Regions from separate parts of the Homo sapiens genome. Here regions 1, 2, 3, 4, 5 and 6 are each linked to region 7. The links are contacts of gene promoters, found by promoter capture Hi-C in blood cells and fetal thymus (Javierre and others, 2016). All regions are on one chromosome and are shown on one strand. Each heading gives the region's core, a stretch centred on a gene start or on the middle of the fragment in contact. The rest is flanking DNA. Distances are from core to core; before and after follow the strand shown. Region 1 overlaps NLRP13 (NLR family pyrin domain containing 13). Region 2 overlaps NLRP4 (NLR family pyrin domain containing 4). Region 3 overlaps NLRP8 (NLR family pyrin domain containing 8). Region 4 has its middle 38 kb from the start of NLRP13. Region 5 has its middle 7.1 kb from the start of NLRP8. Region 6 holds the start of NLRP9 (NLR family pyrin domain containing 9). Region 7 holds the start of KIR2DL3 (killer cell immunoglobulin like receptor, two Ig domains and long cytoplasmic tail 3).

Region 1 (3,918 bases), core at 1,304-3,803, 1.2 Mb after region 7:
TCTTCAGATAAGAAACTAATGCACAATTCTTGGCATATTAAAAAAACTCAGGTGTTATGATACCCCCAAAGGATTGTACTAACTCTCTAGCAATGGATCCTAACCAAAATGAAAATGTAAAAATGCCAGATAAATAATTTAAAATATTGATTTTAAAGAAGCTCAGTGAGATCCAAGAGAAATCATAAAACCTGTACAAAGAAATCAGAAAATAAATTCAGGATATGAATGAGAAATTTATCAAAGAGATATTTTTGAGAGAAAAATCAAATAAAACTTCTGCAAGTGAAAAATTCATTGAAGTTACAAAATATAGCTGAAAGTTTCAACAACAGATTAGACAAAGAAGAGGAAAGAATCTCAGAACTTGAAGGTCTTTTGAATTAATTTAGTCTGACAAAAATAAACAGGATTTTAAGAAAATGAACAAAGACTTCAAAAGGCGTGGGACTACATACAATGTTGGAACCTATGAATCATAGGCATTCCTGAGGGAGAAGAAAGAGCAAAAAGTTTTAAAAACCTGTTGTGGAAATAATTGAGAAAAACTTCCCTACTCTGGCAAGAGATCCAGGCATCCAAATATAAGAGGATTAATGAACTCCAAAAAAAATGCATTGCAAGAAGGGCCTCACTATGATATTTATTCATCAGACTAAGTTTAATGTGAAGGAAAAAACGTCCTAAAAAAAATCAGTAAGAGAAAATAATCTAGTCACCTATGAAGCAAAACCCATCAGACTAACAGCAGACTTCTCAGCAGAAATCTTACAAGCTAGAAGGAATTGGAATTTCAAAGGTTTTTTGTTTAAAGAAATAAACTGTTAACCCCAAGTTTTGTATCCTTCTACAATAAGCTTTATAAATGAAGAAATAAAGTCTTTTTCAGACAAGCAAACACTGAGGGAATTTGTCACTACTAGACTTGTACTACAGGAAATACTTGAAGGAGTTCTAAACATGGAACTAAAAAGGTTGATACTTGCCATCACAAAAACACACAAAACTATAAAATACACCAGTCTTATAAAGCAATTACACAAAGGAGAAAGAAATCAAATGATAGCATGACACAATTCCATCAAATCACAAAGAAAAAGAACAAAAAAATCTGCAAAGCAAATGGAAATCAACATTGTAACTGGAAAAAAGGTCATATATCAATATTAACCTTCAATATACATGGATTAAATGCGCTTCTTAAAAGATATAAATTGGAGGAATAGATTTTAAAACATAAGCCAAATATATGCTGCTTAAAAAAAAACTCATCTTACTTCACTATAGACTGAAGGTAAAGGTGTAGAAAAAGATTCCACTTTTCCCCCTTTGCTTCACAAAAAGCAAACTGGAGTAGCTATACTTATATTAGTTGAAAGACTTTCAACCAGCAACAGTTTAAAAAAAGGCAAAGAAGATTTTTATATAATGATAAAGGGATCAATTCAAGAAGATATAATAATCCTAAACATATATACATCCATACCAGAGTACCTAGATTCATAAAACAAATATTATTAGACCTAAAGACAGCAAAATAATAATAGTGGGAGACTTCAACACCCCACTGACAGCACTAGACAGATCATCAAGACAGAAAATCAACAAAGGAAGTCTGAACTTAAATTGGACTTTAGACCAAATGAAACTGACACACATTTACAGAACCTTCTACTCAACTGCAGAATATATATTCTTCTCATCAGTGCATGGAACATTCCTTGAAATAGACCGTATGTTAGGCTACAAAACAAGGCTCAATAAATTTTTTAAAAATGGAAATTATATCAAGTATTTTTCTCAGACTACAGTGAAATAAAACTAGAAATCAATCTCAAGAGAAACTCCTGAAACTATGCAAATGCACAGAAATTAAACAACTGCTCCTAAACAATCTTTAGGTCAATGACAAAATTAAGACAGAAATTAAGTTTTTTGAAACTAATGAAAATGGAGACACAACATATCAAAACCTCTGTGATACAGCAAAAAAAAAAAAAAAGTTTATAGCATTAAATGCTTACATTTAAAAAAAAATCACAAATTAACAACCTAACAATGCAACTCAAGGAAAAAGAATAAGAACAAATCAAACCCAAAGCTAGAAGAAAAATAACAAATCAGAGCAGAAATAGAGACCAAAATAACAATACAAAGAATCAGTAAAACCAAAGCTTGGTTACTTTAAAAAATAAACAAGATTGATAGATGGCTAGCTATACTAACTAATGAAAGAAGAGAAGATTCAAACAAACAATCAGAAATGAAAAAGGAAACATTACAACTGAGCCAACAGAAATACAGATGATCAGAGACTACTATGGACAACTCTATACTCACAAACTAAAAACCCAAGAAGAAATAGATAAATTTCTGGGAACATACAACCTACCAAGATTGAATCAGGAATAAATATAAATCCTGAACAGATCAACAACAAGGAGTGAGTGAATCAGTAATTTAAAAAATTAATAACAAAAAAATCCCAGTACCAGATGTATTTCACAACCAAATTCTACAAGACATACAAAGAAGAACTGGTACCAATCCTACTGAAACTGTTGCAGAAAAAGATGTTGGAGAGGAGGGAGTGCTCTCTAATTCCTTTTATTAAGCCAGTATCATCCTGATGCCAAAGCTCAACAAGGACACAAAAAGACAACTGCAGACCACTATCCCTGATGAACATAAGTGCAAAAATCTTCAACAAAATACCAGAAAACTGATCCAACAACACATAAAAAAGATAATACACCATGACCAAGTGGGTTTTAACCCAGGAATACAAGGACGGTTCAACACTCACAAATCAATAAATGTGATTCGCCACATAAACAGAATTAAAAACAAAAACTATATGATCATCTCTACAGATGCATAGAAGCATTTGGTAAAATTCAGCATCCCTTCATGATAAAAACCCTCAACAAACTAAGCTTCAAAGGAACATATGTCAAACTAATAAAAGCCATATATGACAAATCCACAGCCCACATTATACTGAATGGGAAACAGTTGAAAGCATTCTCCCCAAGAACTGGAACAAGACAAGGATGCCCACTTTCACCACTCCTATTCAACACAAAACTGGCTAGTCATAGCCAGAGCAATCAGGCAAGAGAAAGAAATAAAAAGGTATCTAAATTGTAAAGAAGAAGCCAAATTATCTGTTGATATGATCTTATATCTAGAAAACTCTAAAGACTTCTCTAAAAGACTCCTAGATTTGATAAATGAATTCATAAAATCTTAGTATTAAAATAAAGCAATGTACAAATATCAGTAGCCTTTCTATACTCCATAATGATCAAGCTGAGAACCAAATTAAGAAGGCAATCTATTTACAATAGCTTAAAAAAAAACACCTAAGGAATATATTCAACCAAAGAGGTGAAAGATCTCCACAAGGAAAACTACAAAAAGCTTAAGAAATTATGGATGACACAAGTAATGCTCGTGGATAAGAATAAATGTCATTAAGATGACCATATTTTCCAATATATCAATTCAATGCAATTCCTATCAAACTCCCAGTGACATATTTCACAGAATTAGAGAAAACAATCCTAAAATTCATATGGAACCAAGAAAGAGCCCTAATAGCCAAAACAATCAGAAGCAAAAAGGACAAATCTGTATGCATCACCTTACCTGACTTCAAATTATACTACCAGGATATAGTAAACAAAACAGCATGGTACTAGTACAAAAATAAACATAGATCAATGTAACAGAATAGAGAGGCCAGAAATAAAGCTATATACCTACAGCTAGCTGATCTTCCGCAAAGTCAATAAAAACACGCACTAGGGAAAGGGCACTCTATTCAATAAACGGTGCTGGGAAAACTGGCTAGCCATATGTAGAAGAATAAAACTGGACCATATCTCTCACTATATTCAAAAGCTCACTCAAGAT
Region 2 (3,372 bases), core at 396-2,895, 1.1 Mb after region 7:
GGTAGATCTCTGGATAAATCTAAACAAAATGTGGATTGTGTATAAAAATAATACCATCTTGAAGATTTAATGGAAAAAATATACAACAGCCATAACAAAATATAAAGGGGTAAATTAAGGTGAATACTCAAATTAGCAGAAAAGAGGAGACAGAATGATTAAAAAATTCCCGATCCAAAAAAGAACAAGGAAACAAAAATTGAACAGGTAAGAAAATATGAAACAAGATATATATTTGAATTCAAATATGCTAGTAATTAAACGAACAGATTAAATGTTTCAGCTAAAAGATTGCCATATTAAAACGTAACTAATGTTTATAAGTTACTTATTAAAACGTGAGGTTGTGGTTGTACAACATTGTGAACTGTAGTAAGTGCCACTGAACTGTTCACTTTAATATAGTTAATCTTAAGTAAATTTTACCTCAATAAAATGATGAAAATGAAAGGATAGAAAAAAAGACCACGCAAATATTAAAAGGAAGCTTACGCAACTGTATGAATCAGACAAAATAGAATTTAAGACAAAGTATTATTCGGTTCATGCTAATTTTTAAATTATCTTCCTACTCAGTTGAACTTTAAATCTTACAAGGTGAACATAATTACTTCCCATATAGAGTCCAGGAATCTAAGAGAAATCATAATGGAAATTAGAACATATGTTGAAATGAAAAAGGAATATACTTTGCAACAAACTCAGATGGAGCTGTAGTGCATGTATATATTTTAAAAGGAATCTAAAGAATAATGAACTTAAGGATTTTTTTAATGGTAAAATAAACCCCCTAAAGGATGGAAGGAAATAAAAATAAGGACAGAAACTAATGAAACAAAAATCACAATGGAAAAGATCAGAAACCTGCAGGGTGGTTCTTGGAAAAAACAGTTTTTGTTAATGCCATCCTATAGAATATAATGCAAGCCACACATGTAATATTAAATTTTCAAGTAGCCATATTAAAAGTGATGTAATATTTGAAAGTAATTTTATAAGTAAATATTTGAAACTAATTTTAATAATATAGTTTATTTAGCCATATATCAAACATCACTTCAATATGTAATCAGTACAAAAAATTACTAATGAGAGATTTTACTTTTTTGTATTAACTCTCTAAGGTTCACTATGTATTTTATACTATGGCACATCTAGATTCAGACAAGCTACATTCCAAGTGCTCAGTGGTCACACGTGGCTGGCTATCACACTGAAGAGTGCAGGTCTATGTCAAGAATGGGAAAAGAAACATTACTACAGATGCTACAGATATTAAAAAGATTACATATGAGCAACTTTACACAATAAACTTGAAAATTTAGATATTTTCAAGACTCAATAAGCTTCTAAAATGATAGAACCTAAATGTACTCAAGACAAAAGAAAAATGAATCAGTCAAATCTTTTTATATAGAAAATTCCAGGCTTAGAAGCCTTCATTGGTGATTCTTACCAGACATTCAAAGAATAAATAATTCCACTCTTACATCAGCTTTTTCAGGATCAGAAGAGGAGAAACTCCCCACCATTTTTTGTGGCTAGCATAATCTTGATGCCAGAAACCAATAAGAATTTTATTGGTTGTAATATAATCCTTACAATTTTTGTAAGAAAGCAGAATTAAAGGCTAGTGTCATTCATGAAATGCAAAAACACTGAACAGAATATTAGCAAGCAGAATCCATAAATGTATTAAAAGAATAAACATAATGACTAAGTTGGGCTTATCCCCAAAATGTAAAGTTGCTTTAACATTAAAAAGATTAGTAAAAAAATCAATGTAAATCACTTTACTGGTTAAAAATAAAAATCATGATCTAAAATGCAGAAAAGTTTGAATTAAGACATACAATTCTTGAAAAACTATTTGGGAACTTCCTTGATGATCTAAAGAATATGTTCAAAAAAATCTAAAGCAAACATTTGTCTAATGATGAGAGAAAAGCTTTCTCTTCAATATCATGAAAAAGATAAGAACGGTGGCTATAATCACTTCTAGTCAACAGTGTCCTGAAAATCTTAGCAAATGCTTCAAGGTAAGAAAAACACTAAACCTGTAATCTTTGAAGAAACACCTAATTCTATACAGATGATTTGAATGTACATAGAAAAATCCAAGAAAATCTGTAGCTAAGTTATCAGAATTAGTCTAACAAGCTTGCTTGAAACAATATATCAAAAACAGTTACTGATATACCAACAAGAAGTAATAAGCTAGTGGAATTAAATAAAAGTACCTTTTACAGTAACATAAAAAAGAAATTACCTAGAAATAGCTACTGTGATATATGTGAGACTTTTATAGAGAATATGATCAAATTATGGTATAAAACAATGTTATATTCAAAGATTGAAATATTCAGTATCTAAAAAGTCAGTTTTCTGTAAGTTGAATTCATTTGCTTTCATGAAATCCCAGTGAAAATGCGATGTTTTTGTTTGGTGATTGAGTTGAACTTGAAAAGTAAATTTTAAAATGTGTATGGAACTTGCAAGAGGCCAAGAATACCTAAGAAACACCTAAAATATAAAAAGTGGGCCAGGCGCGGTGGCTCACGCCTGTAATCTCAGCACTTTGGGAGGCTCAGGTGGGTGGATCACCTGAGGTCAGGAGTTCAAGACCAGCTTGACCAACATAGTGAAACCCCGTCTCTACTGAAAAAAAAAAAAATACAGAATTAGCTGGGTATGATGGTGGATGCCTGTAATACCAGCTACTCAGGAGGCTGAGGCAGGAGAATCACCTGAACCCGTGAGGCAGAGGTTGCAGTGAGCTGAGATTGTGCCGTTGCATTCCAGCCTGGACAACAGGAGTGAAACTCCGTCTCAAATAAAAATAATGTAGGAACTCTTGCTCTAAATGTGTCATCTAAAGTTTTAGAAATTAAAAAAGCATGAGATTCACACAGGGATAAGCAGACAGACCAGAGACACAGAATAGAGATCTCAGAAACAGACTGATCCACGTGTGTTCAGATGTCGCATCATGGAATAGCGTATCACTGGTGCAGAGAGAGGATAGACCTCCAACAAACGATGCTGAGACAATTCAGTTGTCCCTCCATATCCATAGGAGGTTGGCTACAGATTTCCCCTGAGGAGTCCAAAATCTGTAGATGCTCAAGTTCCTAATGTAAAATGGCATAGTGTGTGTTTTGAGACAGTCTCTCACTTTGTCGCCCAGGCTGGAGTGCAGTGGTGCGATCTCAGCTCACTGCAATCTCTGCTTCCCGAGTTCAAGTGATTCTTGTGCCTCAACCTCCTGGGTAGCTGGGACTACAGGCACGCATCGCCATGCCCGGCTAATTTTTTGTATTTTTTGTGTTTTTTTTAGTAGAGATGAGGGTTTCACCATTTTGGCCAGGCTGG
Region 3 (3,412 bases), core at 615-3,114, 1.2 Mb after region 7:
ACCTTTCTTTTTATTGTTTGATTATAGCCATTCTTGCAGGAGTGAGGTGGTATTGCATTGAGGTTTCAATTTGCAGTTCCCTGATACTTAGTCATGTCAAGCATTTTTCCATTTGCTTTTTGGCCATTTGTGTATCTTTTAGGAATTGTCTATTCGTGTCCTTAGCCCACTTTTTGATGGGATTTTTTTTTCTTGCTGATTTGTTCTTTGTAGATTCTGAATATTAGTCCTTTGTCAGATGTATAGATTGTAAAGATTTTCTCCCACTCTGTGGGCTGTCTGTTAACTCTGCTGATTATTTCTTTTGCTGTGCAGAAGCTTTTTAGTCTATCAGTTTTATTGATCCACAATGCCTTCATCCCACCATTCCCACATCGAAGCTGCTGTCCTTTCCTTGAAAGCTTGGAAGTCCTGAGTGGTGATGACAGAGGTGTGAGGATGCTTCTGCATCCAGAGGGAGAGCCCTGACTGAGAAGATCACCCTTCTGTGTGAGACAAAGACCCCTCTCCATTCAGTCATCTGTGTGCTTCTCTCCCATAGGATAGAGAACTGCAACCTTACACAGCTTACTTGTGAAAGCCTTGCCTCCTGTCTCAGGCAGAGTAAGATGCTGACCCACCTGAGCTTGGCAGAAAACGCCTTGAAAGATGAAGGGGCCAAGCATATTTGGAATGCCCTGCCACACCTGAGATGTCCTCTGCAGAGGCTGGTGTAAGTCCCAGAATGTTTTCTTCTCTGAATTCCCTGGAGCAGAACAGGGTGATGAAGAGAACCTGTTATATATTCATTTATGTCACATATTTATTAAGTGCCTACTGCGTGTTAGGCATGGTGCTAGCACTGAGGGGAAAAGCACAATAAAGAGGAGGGTTATTATTTCTGATTCAGGGACAAGTGATCTAGAGGCAGAGTTCTCAAACTGTGTACCAAGACACCCAGGAGTGAACTCAGAAGGACTGCAGGGTATTTTAAATTTAAGGAATATTGAGATCTATCTGTTCATCACTGTAAGAACGACTACCTCGAGGTGTAAGAATTAAAGAAAGAGGAAAGAAACACAAAAGGTGGCTTGACAGTTAAGGACAGGTTTATTTTAGAGAAAACAGACCTGAGAGGGGCTTCTGGCCGAGTTAGGTCAGAGCTACACTCTCTTATAGACTAAGAGTTTTTAAAGATTCAGGGTGGGAATATTTATCAGAGGCTTGGACTGCTTCTGTGACTCTTGGTTGTGCTTATCTGGGAGGGAGAGTTGTGTGTCTGTTCCCATACATCCTTCTGCAGCTGCAGGCATATCCCCTGAGTCTGCTTTTAGCTTCCCTATCTTAGTGCACCTGAAGGGAAAGGAATGTGCTATTAAGGCTCACTGTTTTGGGAGGCCTGTAATCCCAGCACTTTGGGAGTCCGAGGCGGGAGGATCACGAGGTCAGGAGATCGAGACCACAGTGAAACCCCGTCTCTACTAAAAATACAAAAAATTAGCCGGGCACAGTGGCGGGCGCCTGTAGTCCCAGCTACTCAGGAGGCTGAGGCAGGAGAATGGCATGAACCCGGGAGGCAGAGCTTACAGTGAGCCAAGATCGCACCACTGCACTCCAGCCTGGGCGACAGAGTGAGACTCTGTCTCAAAAAAAAAAAAAAAGAAAGAAAAAAGGCCCATTGTTTTACTGGGGCTCGTGGCATGAATGTGAAGTTTGGCAGTTACCCGAGAGACTTTCCCCCCACCTCCCTCTGTGCCCTAGCTGTCTTATCTGTGTTTTACTGTCTGTTCTTTCTGGCTGCTTGTAATTAGGAGAGAAATGATTTCCTTGAAATGCATGAGGTTAGAAAGGGAGCTGGAACTTAAAGTGCCAGTGTCTGTCCGAGATCACGGTGCTCCTGCTCTGTCACGAGGTAGTTCATTTTCACAGCTTGAAATCAGCCATGGCAGAAGTGTTTGCACCATGGAAACTGGCAATCACTACACATGAGGGCTTTTGTTTGTTTGCTCTAGAGAGCTGGTTTACTAGGACATCACCGAACCATAACCATCGAATCCCCTCTTTATTTCTTGTCTCACATGAGAATATGAGCTGCTAAAAGGCAGGGGCTCTGCCTGCGTGAATTCCCATCCCCTAATTCAATGCCCCAAGCATAGTAACTCTCAGCAAATGTTTGTGAAAGGCAAGAGGTGGCGCAAAATACCCCCTGAAACACTGATACTGTTAGTTCTCCAAAAAGAAGCAGGGAACGGTGCCACTGCTTTGGAAAGCAGCTTTGGCAGTTCCTCAAAAGGTGAAGCACAGACTTAATCCGTGAGCCATCAGTCCTGCTAGTAGGTGTATCCACAAAAGAAATAAAAACCCACCTCCACATGAAAACCTGCACACAGTTCACAGCAGCATTATTCATAGTACTCATAATACCCAAGACCTGGAAACAACCTGTGTCTGTGCCCTGATGACGGCATAAAGGCAGTATGGTGTATTCACGCAATGGAATGTTATTTAATTGTTAAATGAAATACTGATTCATGCTACAGCATGGACGAATCTTCAAAATATTATGGTAGATAAAAGAAGCTAAACGCAAAAAGTCACATATTACATGATTCCATTTAAATGACATGCCAAAAATAGGCAAATCCAGAAAAAGAAAGCAAATTAGTGGTGTTAGGGTTGGGGTGGGTTGGGGGAGGAAGTGAGAAGTGGCTTCTAAAGTATCCAGGGTTTTCCTTAGGGGTGACAAAAATATTCCAAACCGAACTTACACAAATATTCTAAAATTGTGGTGATGATCATACAACTTTATAAATAGACTGAAAACCAATATTTGGTACACTTTAAGTGGGTGAATTGTGTGATATATTAATTGCATCTTGGTTATGCCATTATGCAAAAACAAAAAACAAACAAACAAAACAAACAAATAAAAACAGAACCCAAAAACAAAGAAGTAAAACCTAAGGGTGTTTTCGTTGTTGTTGTTGTTGTTGTTTTGTTGTAGTTGTTGTTGTTGTTGTTTTTAACCTGTGTTTCTTTGCAGACTGAGAAAGTGTGACTTGACCTTTAATTGCTGTCAGGATATGATCTCTGCGCTCTGTAAAAATAAAACCCTGAAAAGTCTTGACCTAAGTTTTAATAGCCTGAAGGATGATGGGGTGATCCTGCTGTGTGAGGCCCTGAAGAACCCTGACTGTACATTACAGATCCTGGAGTAAGTGGCCCCTCGTCTCCTCCTGTGAGACCAGGAGAATTGTATATAAGCGTCTCTCAGGATGGAATATATAACAGGAAAGGGCTGTCTTTTTAAGTTTCTGGATTGTTCCCTCCATTGAATTGGAGAACTGGGAAGCTTCTGAGCCGTGGTTCTCAAAGTGTGGATCAGCAGCAGTTTCGCCTGGGCAGGACACACACAAATTTTGGGGCCCCACTT
Region 4 (3,422 bases), core at 566-3,065, 1.2 Mb after region 7:
CCTCCTCCTAGTAGTCCCGTGTCTTGTCAACAAATATATGTGTATATATGTATATACACACACATACACACACACATATTCATATACATACACACATACACATATACGTATTGTTTGAGACGCAGTGTCACTTTGTCACCCAGGCTGGAGTGCAGTGGCGTGATCTCGGCTCACTGCACCCTCCACCTCCTGGGCCCCAGCGATTCTCCTGCCTTAGGCTCCTGAATAGCTGGGATTATAGGCGCACACCACCACGCCGGCTAATTTTTGTATTTTTAGTAGAGATGGGGTTTCACCATGTTGGCCAGGCTGGTCTCGAACTCCTGACCTCAGGTGATCTGCCCACCTCGGCCTCCCAAAGTGCTGGAATTAGAGGCATGAGCCACCATGCCTGGCCTACTGTCACCATCTTTAAATCCACATGTACTGATTGTTTAGCTCCAACTTGTGAGAACATGTGGTATGTGGTTTTCTGTTCCTGCATTAGTTCACTTAGGCTAATAGCCCTCAGCTGCGTCCATGTTGCCACAAAGGACATGGTTTCATTCCTTTTTAGAGCAGTGTAGTACTCCATGGTGTATGTGGACCACATGCATGTGTGTGTTCCTCACAGCACTGTTCACAATAGCATTGACATGGAACCAACCTAGGTGCTCATCAACAGCAGACTGGATGGAAGCAGTGAAGTACAGGCAGGGTGCAGTGTAAAGTGGCAAACTGATATAAAGCATAATAAAGGTTTAGACAAAAGTAATTGCCATTTTTGCCATTAAAAGTAATGGCGGCCAGGCATGGTGGCTCACACCTGTAATCCCAGCACTTTGGGAGGCTGAGGCAGGTGAATTACCTGAGGTCGGCAGTTCTAGACCAGCCTGACCAACATGGAGAAACCCCATCTCTACTAAAAATACCAAGTTAGCTGGGTGTGGTGGCACGTGCCTGTAATCCAGGCTACTCGGGAGGCTGAGGCAAGAGAATCGCTTGAACCTGGGAGGCGGAGGGTGCGGTGAGCCGAGATCACGCCATTGCACTCCTGTGTGGGCAACAAGAGTGAAACTCCATCTCAAAAAAAAAGTAATGGCAAAAACCATTACTTTAAAACCACTGCATTAAAAGTAATAGCAAACACAATTACTTTGGCACCTACCTACAGAAAGACTAACAAATGAAGGGTAACTTTTGTTTACCCTTCGACTGGGACCTCCCACCACCCTAGCCTTACCCACAGATGTCAGGGAGAAGATTTGATGGCACGGGAACCCCTTTCCATAGAGAAAAGGCACAACCACAAAGGTAGAGGATGAGAAAACCATGGCGCAGATGACACAAGGGACCTTGTGGGCAGGCCAGAGTAACTCAGGCCATTTTCACTGTGTATGAATAAATCCAAGTACTTCTCATTAATCTGCATCTAGCAATTTTTGAAAAATAAAATCTGAGCGTTCTACAAGAGGAGGCGAGGGTCTGGGCACCCAGTCAGAAGCCCCTTCTGCACACATGCATGATAGACAGCAGAGAAGCTTCATCTTTAACGGTTGCTGTCCCAGAACCCTTTTTAAAATGCACCACTGAAGTGTGAAGTTGGCAACATCAAATCTTTAAAAGGTGCAGATCGTGACTCACTTCCTAAAGTAGGCAAGGTTCCTTGGCATCTGGGATGACTTCTGCTGAGATGTACCAGTAACAGCTGTTAACTGCTTACCTTTCTCCATGCCCCAACTTTTTTTTTTTTTTTTTTTTTGAGACAGGGTCTTGCTCTGTTACCCAGGCTGGAGTGCATGATCATGGCTCACTACAGCCTCAAACTCCTGGGTTCAGGCAGTCTTCCCACCTCAGCCTCCCAAGTTGCTGGGAACACAGGTGTGTGCCACCATGCCAAGCCAATTTTTTAAAATTTTTGTAGAGACAGGATCTGCCTATGTTGCCCATGCTGGTCTTGAACTCCTGGCCTCAAGTGATCCTCCTGCCTTGGCCTCTCAAAGTGCTGGAATTATAGGCATGAGCAACTGCAGCCAACCTGCTTACCTTTCTGATTTCCTCTCAGAATACTGAATGGGGTGGAAAGTGTTCTAATTAAATGCTCTTCTCTCAGTGCCTCAAAGGGGCAACATAAAGCTTGGTGCAACCTCAGGGCCTTTGCACATGCTACTGAAACATCCTCAGTACATTCCACCCTTCATCTCTAGTCACCTCTCATGTTCCCTTCCTGATATAGGGACTCCTCCTTCCAGCCTCCTTGGGACTCAGGATCAATGGTACCGCCTCTGGCAAGCCCCTTGCTATTCTGGTCACCCTCCTGTCTTATCTCAACCCAGAGTTTCTTTCACAGCATTCATGACAACAGAGATTGCTTTTATGTCTCAGACCTGTTATCTCCTGGAGGAGAACTCAAGACTCTCAAGGACAAGGCTCATGTCCGTTTGTTTCCCCCCTGTCTACCATGCCATGGTGCTTGGCCCAGAGTCGGTATTGAAAAAGAAGCCACAAGTTAATGGCTATGGAGTGACACGTACAGTAGGTACAAGAATGATAAACAGAAGCAGGCTCTCAAAATACCCAAAAGTCTCCAGGACTGCACCATCCAGTACGGTAGTCATTAGCGACATGTGGCTGTTAAGATTTAATTAGTAGGTTGATGCAAAAGTAATTGCCATTTTTGCCACTAAAAGTGACAGCAAAAACCATTACTTTAAAACCACTGCATTAAAAGTAATAGCAAACACCAAAATTACTTTGTACCAACCTAATAAAATTAAAAATTTATATTTATATTAAAATAGGCTGGTGGCCAGGAGCAGTGGCTCACGCCTGTAATCGCAGCACTTTGGGAGGCGGGCCAACATGGTGAAACCCCCGTGTCTACTAAAAGTATGTTAAAAAAAAAAAAAAGAAAGAAAAGAAAAAGAAAATTAGCCAGGCGTAGTGGCATGCACCTGTAGTCCCAGCTACTGGGAAGGCTGAGCCAAGAGAATCACTTGAACCAGGATGGGGAGGTTGTAGTGAACTGAGATTGCGCCACTGCACTCCAGCCTGGGTGACAGAGCAAGACTCCATCTCAAAAAAGAAAAGAAAAAACAGTCCGGGCATGGTGGCTCATGCCTGTAATCCCAGCACTTTGAGACGCCGAGGTGGGTGGATCACCTGAGGTCAGGAGTTCAAGACCAGCCTGGCCACTACGGTGAAACCCCCATCTCTACAAAAATACAAAAATTAGCTGGGCGTGGTGGTGGGTGCCTGTAGCTCCAGCTACTCGGGAGGCTGAGGCAGGAAAATTGCTTAAACCCGGGAGGTGGAGGTTGCAGTGAATCAAGATGACACAACTGCACTCTAGCCTGGGTGACAGAGCGAGACACTGTCTCAAAAAAGGTGAAAGAAAAAAGAAAACTACTAATTCAGTTCCCAGTCACACTAACCATGTTTCA
Region 5 (3,929 bases), core at 327-2,826, 1.2 Mb after region 7:
TTTTTTTTAGTAGAGACGGGGTTTCACCGCATTAGCCAGGATGGTCTCGATCTCCTGACCTCCTGATTCGCCCGCCTCAGCCTCCCAAAGTGCTGGGATTACAGGTGTGAGCCACCGCGCCCAGCCAACTAGTGGTAATTTTTTTAAAAGAAAATTCCTCAAGCCAGTCCTTCCCAACGCCCCCTCCCTTGTACTCTCTGCTGGTGAGTTTTCCTTCTCCCACAAGCTCTGTCTCTGGGTCTCCCTGAGACTGGGCCCGTTGTATGTGGGACCTAGACTGGGCCCTGATGATCTTGAGACCCTCCTTTTGCTCGATACAATTATATCCCAAGTAGAAGAGATGAACATGTAAACAAGATGAGCCCGTGAATGACTGGATGTTTCCAAATGGGAAGTGGCACTTTCGGACTGAACACGGTGTTAGCCTTCTAAGGAGACTGGGAAGCTCTCCAAACATGTAATTTTCTGTTGCTTGTTCTTCTAGACCTAAGAAGCAAGGGAAGAGTTTCCTTTACAAATCGGAAGCACCTGTAGGATCAAGACCTGCAGCTCATTCATTCTGAATCAAGGGAGCTAAATGCCTTCCAATCGGTGCAATGCAGAGGAATTCTAGTGAGCCAGCCCCCGCCAATGGGAAGAGAAGGTGCCAATTGTCTGAATTCCCCGGCACCTATAAGGGTTGGGGGGTGGGGCAGGCCAGGCGATCTCCGTTTTGGGAGATGCTTTTGACAGGAAGGAGCAGGAAGAATAATTCTCTGCAGAGGTGAGCTTTGTTTTGTTTTGTTTTGTTCTTTTCTCTTTTCTACCTACTCTTTTCCTCATCATCCACTTCCTTGCAGTTACAATGGCTAGACCCTTGAGTTGGGCGCACCCAGTGGGCCCATACTGAAAATCAAAAGTGAGAGCTAGAGATTCAACTGCAAACATAACCAGCTCTCATTCATAAAATCCTTGCCCATCTCTGAAACTCAGCTTTCCTGACCCCGAAGTGGAGTCCTAAATTCCCAAGTTTTCTTTCAGCTCTGAGGGTCTGAGAGCCAGGAGACTCATAGCACTAGCAAAATTCTAAGACCTGAAAGAGATGTCGTGGGGTCTCCAGGTGTCCAGAGGTCTAGGGTAGCCACTGACAGATGTAGTTAGAAAAAAATCAAAATAGCTGTAGACGCGAAGAAGAAATCGCGAGGCACAGAGAAAGAAAGCCGCAAGGATTAAGCAGCACTGACTTTGACACTGCCCCTCTGCAAATATTCCTTCTCAATAAACGCAGATGTGTCACCCACACGGCTCGGCTCGTGGGCTTAGGAATTTGGTCAGGTTCCACCTGCTGGTTTCCAACACTCACAGCTTGGGCTGAATTTACTTAACTTAGTTCAATTTCCGTTTTCTCCTTTGTAAATTGGACGGAAAGGGATTCATGGGATATAATTCTTACCAAAACGTAGAGTTATATGGACTCTAGGGTGATCAAGACGTGACCACAGAACCAAATGGAGATGACAGACTTTTATCTTTTAAAAATGTTTACCCGCTAGAATAGCTATGTTTAAAATGGAAAATAATCAGCGTTGGCAAGAATGTGGAGAAAATGAAACTTTAGTGCATTGTTGATGGGGATGGGAAATGGAAAATAGTATGGCGATTCCTCCTGCTGACCTCAGGTGAACCGCCCGCCTCGGCCTCCCAAAGGGCTGGGATTACAGGCATGAGCCACCGCACCCGGCCTGCTTTTTAATTTTTAATTTTTCTGGGTACATAGTAGAGGTATATATTTATGGGGTACACGAGATGCTTTGATACGGGTATGCAATGTGTAATTACCACATGATGGAGAATGGGGTATCCGTCCCCTCAAACATTTATCCTTTGTGTTACAATCCAATTATACTATTTTAGTTATTTTTAATGTATAATTAAATTGCCATAGACTATAGTCACCATGTTGTGCTATCAAATACAAGGTCTTATTCAGTCCTTCTAATTTTTTGGGCACATTAACCATCCCCCACTTTCCTCCCCACACCCCACAACCCTCCCCAGCCTCTGAACACCACCCTTCTACTCTCTATATCCATGAGTTCAATTGTTGTGATATTTATTTATTTAGAGACAGGTTCTCGCTCTGTCACCCAGGCTGGAGCGCAGTGGTGCGATTTCGGCTCACTGCAACCTCCACCTCCCGGGTTCAAGCAATTCTCGTTTCTCAGCCTCCCAAGTAGCTGGGATTACAGGCACCCGCCATCACAGCTGGCTTATTTTTGTATTTTTTGTAGAGACAGGGTTTCGCCATGTTGGGCAGTCTGGTCTCGAACTCCTGAACTCAAGTGATCTGCCCACCTCAGCCTCCCAAAGTGCTGGAATTACAGGCTTGAGCTACCGTGCCCAACCTGTTTTAATTTTTAGATCCCAAAAATATGTGAGAACATGCAATGTTTGTCTTTCTGTGCCTGGCTTATTTCATGTGTAGATGATCCTGATATACTTCTGTAGGGAAGGAAATACTTTTCCCTCTCTCTCTCTTTATTGATCTTAGATTCCATGGCTCTCTCTTTATTGATCTTAGATTCCTTGGCTGGAGTCTGTGCATTAGGCTCATGAAAGACAGATTAACAAAAGCACAGCAAACAGAAGTTTATGTGTGCATACCCATGGGAGCACTCCATGATGAGAACACTCAGGGGTGGTTAGAACTTAGGCTTATATGTCATGCTAACAAAAGAACAATACATTCTCTTTTTTTTGAGACGGAGTTTCACTCTGTCGCCCAGGCTCACTGTAACCCCCGCCTCCCAGGTTCAAGCAATTCTCCCGTCTCAGCCTCCCGAGTAGCTTGGATTACAGGTGCCCGCCACCACTCCCAGCTAATTTTTGTACTTTTAGTGGAGACAGGGTTTTGCCATGTTGGCCAGGCTGGTTTCGAACTCCTGACCTCAGGTGATCCGCCCACCTCGGCCTCCCAAAGTGCTGGGATTACAGGCGTGAGCCACTGTGCCTGGCCAGAACAGTACATTCTCAGAGAAGTGAAAAGACAAATGAGAAAGACCTCGAATTCCTGGGGGGGTAAATTGTGAGAAGGTAAATGTATGGGGGAGAAAATGGAGGATGAGGGCTAGTTCATAAGGTTTCTTGTGTAGATTTTTCTGGCGCCCTCGCACTGCTGTACGCATCTGGAGCTTGTCTCCGGTGATTAACTTCTGTGTTTCCTGGTAGAGAAGGGGAAAAGGGGCACCTTTACAAACTGATGTCTTGCATTTAGGCAAATCAAGGGAAGACAGATTTTTTCTTGTGTCTGCTCCTTCTCAAGTATCTTCAGCTCAAAATAGTCCGTTTGAAATACACAACAAATTATTATGAACTATAGTCACACTACTGTGCTATCAAATGCTAGAGCTTACTCCTTCTATCCATTGTATTTTTGTACCTATTAACCAACCGCTCTTCATCCAACCCCTCCCACCTGCCTTTCCCATCAATATGTACAATTATCACGTACCAATTTTTAAGAATGAGTACAACAAACTGGAATATTTGGGGGTGGCGTATTCTGCCGTCCCTCATTTCTCTGAAAGGCCAGGAACTCCTTGCTCAGACCCATCAACCACCTGCATCTGGACGTGTGCTCTCCACCCTCTTCCTGCCAAGATCACTTCAGACCCAGCCTGTGTCCTCAATTATACCCCTTCTCCTGCTGTTATTTCCTCACTTGCCAACACTACTTTTCTCTTCTCTACTCCCTTGAATGTACAGACATCCCACAGCATTTCCATCTTTAGGAAAAAAAAATTTTTTTTTGAGACGGAGTCTCTCTCTGTCACCCAGGCTGGAGTGCAGTGGTGTGATCTCGGCTCACTGCAACCTCCACCTCACAGGTTCAAGCAATTCTCTGCCTCAGCCTCATGAGTAGCTGGGATTATAGACGCCCATCACCATGT
Region 6 (3,769 bases), core at 1,254-3,753, 1.0 Mb after region 7:
TAGAATTACCAACACAAAGAAGAAACATGAACAAAACAGAAGTAAACGTAACAGAAGTTGATGGAACTCAAAAGTAAAGGGAGAAGATAACAATCATCAGAAACAAATGCTAATTACTAGATACCTAATAGGGAATATATTTAGTTTTTCCTAAGTATCCCCCGAGAGGAGGGTGTAGACCCCATCAATGAGTCCAGCAGAACTGGTTCGGAGTCAGATCTGTCACTTTTGGAAAAGTCATGTAACACATGGGAACACTGTTTTGTCCAGTTTTCTCACTTGTAAACCTTTCCTGGGTTGTGATAAGAATGAAAAGACATTATGCAGAAAGAATGCTTCCAGGACGTGAGGACAACCTGGCTGTGATGTCTGTCACCCCATTGGTCGCCCCAGGGCTAATTCGGCTGATGTGGCCAGCTGGGTGGGTGTCCACTTCCTCCCTCACTGCTCCATATGCGTCCGTCCTGAAAGTCTCCCCTGGGTCAAAGACGATGACAACCTTTGCCCATAGAGGAAGGTCCTTCCATCGCGGGCAGAAGAGAAGCTGTGCTCCCCTACTAGAACCTCCAAACAAGCTCGCAAGAATGCTTCCTGTAGTACCCGGGACATACGCTGTCTGATTGTCTTAAGATTCTACCTACTCCTTGGTACATGTCTGGTCAAAAAGGACAGGCAGTTAGGCATGGTGGCTCACTCCTGTAATCACAGCACTTTGGGATGCCTAGGCAGGTGGATCACTTGAGCCTGGGAGTTCAAGACCAGCCTGAGCAACATGGCAAGACCCTTTCTCTAAAAAAAAAAAAAAAAAAAAAAAAAAGATAGGCAACTACCATACTAGAATTCCATCTCAGTAGACCTGGCAATGCAGACACTAACTGGCCACTCATCTCCTATAACAACGACTCCACTTGGGGTGGAAAAATGGGAAGACACTCCATAGGTGAACAGTTGGTATCAGGACGCCATCTGTCCCCAGTTCATCGCTGGCCCACATATGAACAGCCCTGGCCTGCAACTCTTCCTACCTTCAACTCTCACCTTGACCCACACACATTCTCATCTGATGGAGGGGGTGGCCACTCATTTAACAATGCTATCACCTTGTTCCCAGGCTTCCCCCATGGGTCCTCGCCCCATCATCCAGCACTTACTTCTCATCTCTTCCTGAGCCTTTGTCCAGAGATCTTTCCTATTGATCTGTAGAAACAGGTTCAGTGTTACCTCCCATGCCTGCTTTCCTGGGTAATGTTTGTCCAGCAGCTTTGCTACATCTTCTTTGGAGGCCTTCTTCAGCTCAGCCCAGGGGATTGGCTTGAGTTCAAATTTCTCCAAAGGTTGTTTGAGGAGCTCCTTAAATTTCCAAAACTCTTCCTTTCTGAGCTCCTTCAGATACCACAACAAGCCAAAATCCGAAAAAAAAGATTCTGCCATATCGCCCCAGGATTGTGAACTGAGGTGTCTCCAGAGGGAAAAGAAAGATCCTCAAAAATAAAGAATAAATGATACCTGGAGAAGAATGACATGATTACAGAGTTAAGCTTCAGCAGCTGAAAGCAGCTCAAAATTATTGATATCATCATGCGTAGCTTGCACCAAACATCATCTAGGGAAGAAGCTTCATCTTTTTCCAAACAAATGCATGTGAATGGTAGAGTTGACTGCCACTTATGTGTCTTGTTTTTGTCTGACATAAATGATGCTTCCAGGAACAAGTGTTTTTGTGTAGTTTGGTGTATATAAGCACACATTTCTCTAGATTTATAAATTATAGGTCAAACAGCAAACACAGGTCACCATGTTTGCTACATAACACTCAACGGTTTTCCCTTGTGTATATAATTACTGACATTCCTACCAGCATTCTATGAGTTTGTTTGCTCTGTAGACCTTCCCATCCTTAGTATAGTCTAATCCAATTTTGATAATGAAAAAATGAACGGATATTAAAATTACAGATGATCACATTCAGGAAGATGAAAATAAAGGAAGAGGACATAAAAGCAAATTTAAATTTTTTTTTATCGTTTAGTGGTATATGCCTTCTTTTTTTTTTTTTTTTTTGAGACAGAGTCTCGCTCTGATGCCCAGGCTGGAGTGCAGTAGCGCAATCTCGGCTCACTGCAAGCTCTGCCTCCCGGGTTCACGTCATTCTCCTGCCTCAGCCTCCTGAGTAGCTGGGACTACAGGTGCCTGCCACCACACCCGGCTAATTTTTTTGTATTTTTAGTAGAGATGGGGTTTTACTGTGTTCGCCAGGATGGTCTCGATCTCCTGACCTCGTGATCCACCCGCCTCGGCCTCCCAAAGTGCTGGGATTACAGGCATGAGCCACCGTGCCCGGCCGGTATATGCCTTCTTATTACAGTATATAAGGAAAAAGTTAGATTTACTATAGGTTAGCATCTGCAGACAACTCAGACAGAAACAGAGCAGTGAACGTTCCCAGTATTATAAACCCTTCAGATAATCATTGCAATTCAACAAAAGACAGGAAATGAAGTAGAAATATATGGTAGACAAAATAAGACAGGTGGCAAAAATAATACCAAATATATATAGATATGTATTTTGAGATAGAGTTTCACTCTTGTTGCCCAGACTAGAATGCAATGGTATGACCTCAGCTCACTGCAACCTCTGCCTCCCAGGTTCAAATGATTCTCCTGCCTCGTCCTCCCAAGTAGCTGGGATTACAGGCACCTGCCACCATGCCCGGCTAATTTTTTTTTTTTGTATTTTTAGTAGAGATGGGGTTTCACCATGTTGGCCAGGCTGGTCTCGAACTCCTGACCTCAGGTGATCCACCTGCCTCAGCCTCCCAAAGTGCTGGGATTATAGGCTTGAGCCACTGCGCCCAGCCTAAATATAATCTTAACACATATGAATGAAATAAAATTGCTCACTAATATATAGACTCACATTGGATAAATACAAATCCTGCTATATGCTGTTTATAAGAGAATCCTAGAAAATACACAGAGAAGTAAAACAGAAGAAGAAAAAGCCTGGCAAATTCTTACCCAAAAAAGTATTAATAGTATAAAATATCAGCATTGAAAAACACTCAAGCTAGAAAGCACTAAATGGACTAAGAATTTTTGAACACCAAGATTCAGTTCCCCAAGATCTAGAACTCATGAGCATATGTGCACCTGGGAATACCACTTTACACATAAGGAGATGATGACAAACGCAATATCATTGTATCTGAGCTAATATACCTTTCAGATAATTACAAACCATTAGCAAAGGTTACATACCATCTATGGTCACATGCAAAAGAATAAACTTGGACCCTTAATACCATAAACAAAAATTAATGCAAAATGGATTGAAGAAGATCTAAATGGAAGGCCCAAAGTATAAAACTCCTAGGAGAAAATGTAGGGCAGAAGCTTCCAGACACAGATTTGGTCTGGATTATTTCTTGAATATGACATGACACAGACAAAAGAAAAAAATAGACAAACTGGACTTTATAAAAATTTTAAAATTTTGTGCATCAAAAGACAGTATCAGCCAGGTGCGGTGGTTCATGCCTGTAATCCCAGCACTTTGGGAGGCCGCAGCAGGTGGATCACTTGAGGCCAGGAGTTTGAGACCCATGGCCCACATGGTGAAACCCTGTCCCTACTAAAAATACAAAAATTAGCCAGGCGTGGTGGCAGACACCTGTAATCCCAGCTGCTCGGGAGGCGGAGGCTGCAGCAAGCTGAGATCACACCGCTACACTCCAGCCTGGGTGACAGAGCGAGACTCTGTCTCAAAA
Region 7 (3,839 bases), core at 752-3,251:
TACGTGCTATTCCACCTTTCCTCAGAGTATCTTTCAGCCTTCTGTCAGCAGTAAAACTTATAAATTTTTTTTATAATTTCAATGTAGTTTTCTATTCTTCAAGTAAACATGTCTGCCCTCATGGTTTCTTCAATGGGACTCTTTTCTTGCCTAAGGCTTCCGGTGTTATCATTACCACGTCCACATAACCCCATCTGTTCTCCGCTGGGTTCTCAGCCCTGGACTCTGAGCTTCTGGAAGCATGGTGGAGCCTGAATTGTCTCTGAGACTCCAATTTCCATCCAAAGATGCAGCACATAGGAGGTTCCAAGGATGGTGAATCAGATGAACAAGTGATATTCTTACTCTCTGCAGATCTGGAAAGCTGGCAGAGTCATTCCACGATGAAACATTTGTAGAGTCATAGGCCTTGTTAGTCTCATCTCCACAGGGACACGTATCAACACATCATCTTTCATACTACTATAAATAGACAGTCACTCCTCCATATCTCTGGGGTTTACACATGTTTATTGAATCAGCAATAAATCAAAAATATTTTGAGAAAAAAAATCCCCGAAGTTTCAAAAAGCAAAAAACTATGTTGAATCGACACAAATTGAGTGGCGTGTAGGCTGTGTCAGGAATTATAAGTAATCAAGAGATGATTTCATGTATACAGGAGGATGTGCATGGGTTCTATGCAATTGCTATGCTATTTTTTTTTTTTTTTTGAGACAGTCTCACTCTCTCACCCAGGCTGGAGTGCAGTGGCGTGATCTCAACTCACTGCAACCTCCGCCTTCCAGGTTCAAGCGATTCTCTTCCCTCAGCCTCCCCAGTAGCCTCCCCTAGGATTACAGGCACGTGCCACCATGCACAGATAAATTTTTTTGTGTGTATATTTTTAGTAGAGATGGGGTTTCAGAATGTTGGACCAGCTGGTCTTGAACTCCTGACCTTGTGATCTACCCAGCTCAGCCTCCCAAAGTGCTGGGATTACAGGCGTGAGCCACGGTGCCCAGCTTCACTATGCCATTTCATGCAAGGGGCTTGAGCATCTGCAGATTTTGGTATCTGAATGGGGATCCTGGAACCAATCACCCAGGTATAGTGAAGGACCATGGTATATAATTTTTATTTGTCAATCTTAAAAATAAAGCATAAAAAATTTACAACAACAAGATAAAAAATAAGAAGTGTTTTTATAGTGTGAGGATAAGTTTAGATTTATTTTTTCCTACGTGTAACCCTATGGTCCTGTGTTATTTGTTGAGAAAATATTCTATTCCACCTTAAACTACATGGCAGCCTTTGTCAACTATAAAGGGACTGTGTATCCACAGATGTATTTTAGACACAGTTTTCTGTCCAGTGGTTCTCTGTATCCCCTCTCATGAGGATGCTGCATTTTATATAAACTTATAGAACCCCTTAAAATTTGGTAACCTGAGTCCTCTGATTTGTTATTATAGGTTATTTAGTTTGCTTTTTTTTTTTTTCTTGAGACAGACTCTTCCTCTGTCACCCAAGCTGGAGTTCAGTGGCTTGAGCTCAGCTCACTGCAACCTCCGTCTCCCAGGTTCAAGCTATTCTGATGCCTCTGGTTTAGTAGTAGAAACTCAAGCAGGAAAATTAGAATGGCTTCTTGTCACAATTACTCTGATAATGTTAATAATACCTGTTAGACATTTTGCACATTACATATGAAGAAGAGTTTGAATCTCAGATAAAAACAAAAATACATCAAAAATCTTTAATGTAAGCACAGAATTCAATCATCTCGTGTATGAGAGGTTGGATCTGAGACGTCTTTTGAGTCTGGTCGTAGTGAAGGACGCAAGGTGTCAATTCTAGTGAGAACAATTTCCAGGAAGCCATGTTCCGCTCTTGAGCGAGCACCCACTGGGCCTCATGCAAGGTAGAAAGAGCCTGCGTACGTCACCCTCCCATGATGTGGTCAACATGTAAACTGCATGGGCAGGGCGCCAAATAACATCCTGTGCGCTGCTGAGCTGAGCTGGGGCGCGGCCGCCTGTCTGCACAGACAGCACCATGTCGCTCATGGTCGTCAGCATGGTGTGTGTTGGTGAGTCCTGGAAGGGCATCGAGGGAGGGAGTGCGGGGATGGAGATCGGGGCCCAGAGTTGGAGATATAGGCCTGGAAGTGGAGTTATGGGCCTAGAGATGGAGTGATGGGCCTAGAAGTGGAGATCTGGGCCTGGAGTGGAGATCTGGGCCTGGAGTGGAGATATGGGCCTGGAGGTTGAGATATGGGCCTGCAGTAGAGATATGGGCTTGTAGTGGAGACATGGGCCTGGAGATGGAGATATGGGCCTGGAGATGGAGATATGGGCCTGCAGTAGAGATAGGGGCCTGGAGTGGAGATATGGGCCTGGAGTGGAGATATGGGCCTGGAGTGGAGATATGGGCCTGGAGGTGGAGATATGGGCCTGGAGGTGGAGATATGGGCCTGGAGTGGAGATATGGGTCTGGAGGTGGAGATACGGGCCTGCAGTAGAGATATGGGCCTGGAGTGGAGATATGGGCCAGGAGTGGAGTTATGGGCCTAGAGGTGGATATCTGGGCCTGGAGTGGAGATATGGGCCTAGGAAGGAGATATGGGCCTGGGTGTGGAGATATGGGACTGGAGAGGTGATATGGGCCTGGAGTGGAGATATGGGCTTAGGGTGGAGATCTGGGCCTGGGGCGGAGATATGGGACTGGATTGGAGATAGGGGCCTAGGGTGGAGATCTGAGCCTGGATTGGCGATATGGGCCTAGGGTGGAAATATCAGCCTGGAGTGGAGATATGGGCTTGGGGTGGGGATATGGGCCTGGAAACTGGGTCTCTGCACAGCCGACAGCCCTGTTCTTGGGTGCAGGTAGGCACTGAGGGTGAGTTTAACTTCAGCCCAGGAAGGGCCTGGCTGCCAAGACTCACAGCCCAGTGGGGGCAGCAAGGGAGGCCTGGTTTGCCTGCAGATGGATGGTCCATCATGATCTTTCTTTCCAGGGTTCTTCTTGCTGCAGGGGGCCTGGCCACATGAGGGTGAGTCCTTCTCCAAACCTTCGGGTGTCATCTCCCCACATAAGAGGATTTTCCTGAAACAGGAGGGAAGTCCTGTCGGGGAGTCTCTCATAAACTAGGAAGAGAGGACCCTGGGGTGCTCAGCCCACATTTCTGACCTCGCCTCCCTGGCCTCTCAACCCCTTGGCAGAGTCAAGTTCTGTGGGGACCAGGGTTAGACTGGGGTGCTCAAAGCTGGGGTGTGTGGTTGGGAAGTGGTAGGAACAGCAGATCCTCTGAGGACAAAGGTGTTACTCACACACTTCAGCGTTTCCATGATGGTAGGGGCTGCAGTGTGGCTGCTGTCATTCTACCAGAAGAGGTGGGAAACCACAGCCATGGCCCTGACATTCCAAATCCTCTGATGGGGGCTCAGTTGTTTATTTTCGTTCAGGCATCCGCTGATATCCATTCACAAAGGACATGCCCTCCACCTCATGTCTACCCTGTGTTGTTTTATGTGAGTAATCTTACAGTATTAAAATCTAGTAGGAGTCTCTTTACTCAGCACTTGCTCAAAGTTCTCAGCTGAGGCTTTTGTTGTAGGGAGACACCATGTCTTTGCGGGATGGGTCCTTCCTTCAGCCCTGGGCACCAAGGTGTGATAGTAGCCATAGAAACGTGGAAAGCGAGGAGAATCTTCTGAGCACAGGGAGGGAAGGGCAGTTCCACATCCTCCTCTCTAAGGCGGCGCCTCCTTCTCCCCAAGGTGGTCAGGACAAGCCCTTGCTGTCTGCCTGGCCCAGCCTTGTGGTGCCTCTAGGACATGTCATTCTTCGGTGTCACTCTT

The links. The method cuts DNA at HindIII sites, captures the fragments that hold promoters and counts their contacts. A CHiCAGO score of 5 or more calls a contact.
Region 1: a fragment that was not itself captured here is called in contact with the fragment with the promoter of KIR2DL3 in region 7 in 5 of 17 cell types (total CD4 T cells, non-activated CD4 T cells, naive CD4 T cells and 2 more); the score reaches 8.2 in total CD4 T cells.
Region 2: a fragment that was not itself captured here is called in contact with the fragment with the promoter of KIR2DL3 in region 7 in 4 of 17 cell types (non-activated CD4 T cells, activated CD4 T cells, total CD4 T cells and 1 more); the score reaches 6.4 in non-activated CD4 T cells.
Region 3: a contact is called between a fragment that was not itself captured here and the fragment with the promoter of KIR2DL3 in region 7, in 1 of 17 cell types (non-activated CD4 T cells). The highest score is 5.5, in non-activated CD4 T cells.
Region 4: a contact is called between a fragment that was not itself captured here and the fragment with the promoter of KIR2DL3 in region 7, in 1 of 17 cell types (naive CD8 T cells). The highest score is 6.4, in naive CD8 T cells.
Region 5: a fragment that was not itself captured here is called in contact with the fragment with the promoter of KIR2DL3 in region 7 in 1 of 17 cell types (non-activated CD4 T cells); the score reaches 5.4 in non-activated CD4 T cells.
Region 6: a contact is called between a fragment that was not itself captured here and the fragment with the promoter of KIR2DL3 in region 7, in 1 of 17 cell types (non-activated CD4 T cells). The highest score is 5.8, in non-activated CD4 T cells.

What each region holds. Positions count from the first base shown.
Region 1 is chr19:55,916,267-55,920,184 of GRCh38, forward strand. All of the region lies in intron 4 of NLRP13 (NLR family pyrin domain containing 13), which reads right to left. Among named protein-coding and RNA genes, the nearest start is that of NLRP13, 14 kb to the right of the region's middle. The HindIII fragment of the contact is 762 bases long and covers 2,173-2,934 here.
Region 2 is chr19:55,873,207-55,876,578 of GRCh38, forward strand. The region is part of intron 7 of NLRP4 (NLR family pyrin domain containing 4); the gene reads left to right. Among named protein-coding and RNA genes, the nearest start is that of NLRP4, 38 kb to the left of the region's middle. The HindIII fragment of the contact is 602 bases long and covers 1,345-1,946 here.
Region 3 is chr19:55,973,111-55,976,522 of GRCh38, forward strand. NLRP8 (NLR family pyrin domain containing 8) reads left to right here. Exons shown (of 10, transcript NM_001433706.1): 7 at 542-712; 8 at 3,023-3,193. Among named protein-coding and RNA genes, the nearest start is that of NLRP5, 12 kb to the right of the region's middle. The HindIII fragment of the contact is 2,930 bases long and covers 400-3,329 here.
Region 4 is chr19:55,892,324-55,895,745 of GRCh38, forward strand. It overlaps a transcript of NLRP13 not described here. Among named protein-coding and RNA genes, the nearest start is that of NLRP13, 38 kb to the right of the region's middle. The HindIII fragment of the contact is 595 bases long and covers 1,519-2,113 here.
Region 5 is chr19:55,938,792-55,942,720 of GRCh38, forward strand. No RefSeq gene overlaps it. Among named protein-coding and RNA genes, the nearest start is that of NLRP8, 7.1 kb to the right of the region's middle. The HindIII fragment of the contact is 7,001 bases long and covers 1-3,929 here.
Region 6 is chr19:55,736,944-55,740,712 of GRCh38, forward strand. It overlaps NLRP9 (NLR family pyrin domain containing 9), which reads right to left and starts at 1,459. Exons shown (of 9, transcript NM_176820.4): 1 at 1,152-1,459. The coding sequence starts at 1,431. It also overlaps the pseudogene RN7SKP109. The HindIII fragment of the contact is 1,780 bases long and covers 1,614-3,393 here.
Region 7 is chr19:54,736,512-54,740,350 of GRCh38, forward strand. It overlaps KIR2DL3 (killer cell immunoglobulin like receptor, two Ig domains and long cytoplasmic tail 3), which reads left to right and starts at 2,002. Exons shown (of 8, transcript NM_015868.3): 1 at 2,002-2,068; 2 at 2,996-3,031. The coding sequence starts at 2,035. KIR3DL3 (killer cell immunoglobulin like receptor, three Ig domains and long cytoplasmic tail 3) reads left to right here. Exons shown (of 8, transcript NM_153443.5): 8 at 1-121. RefSeq lists an enhancer at 1-55. The HindIII fragment of the contact is 12,642 bases long and covers 1-3,839 here.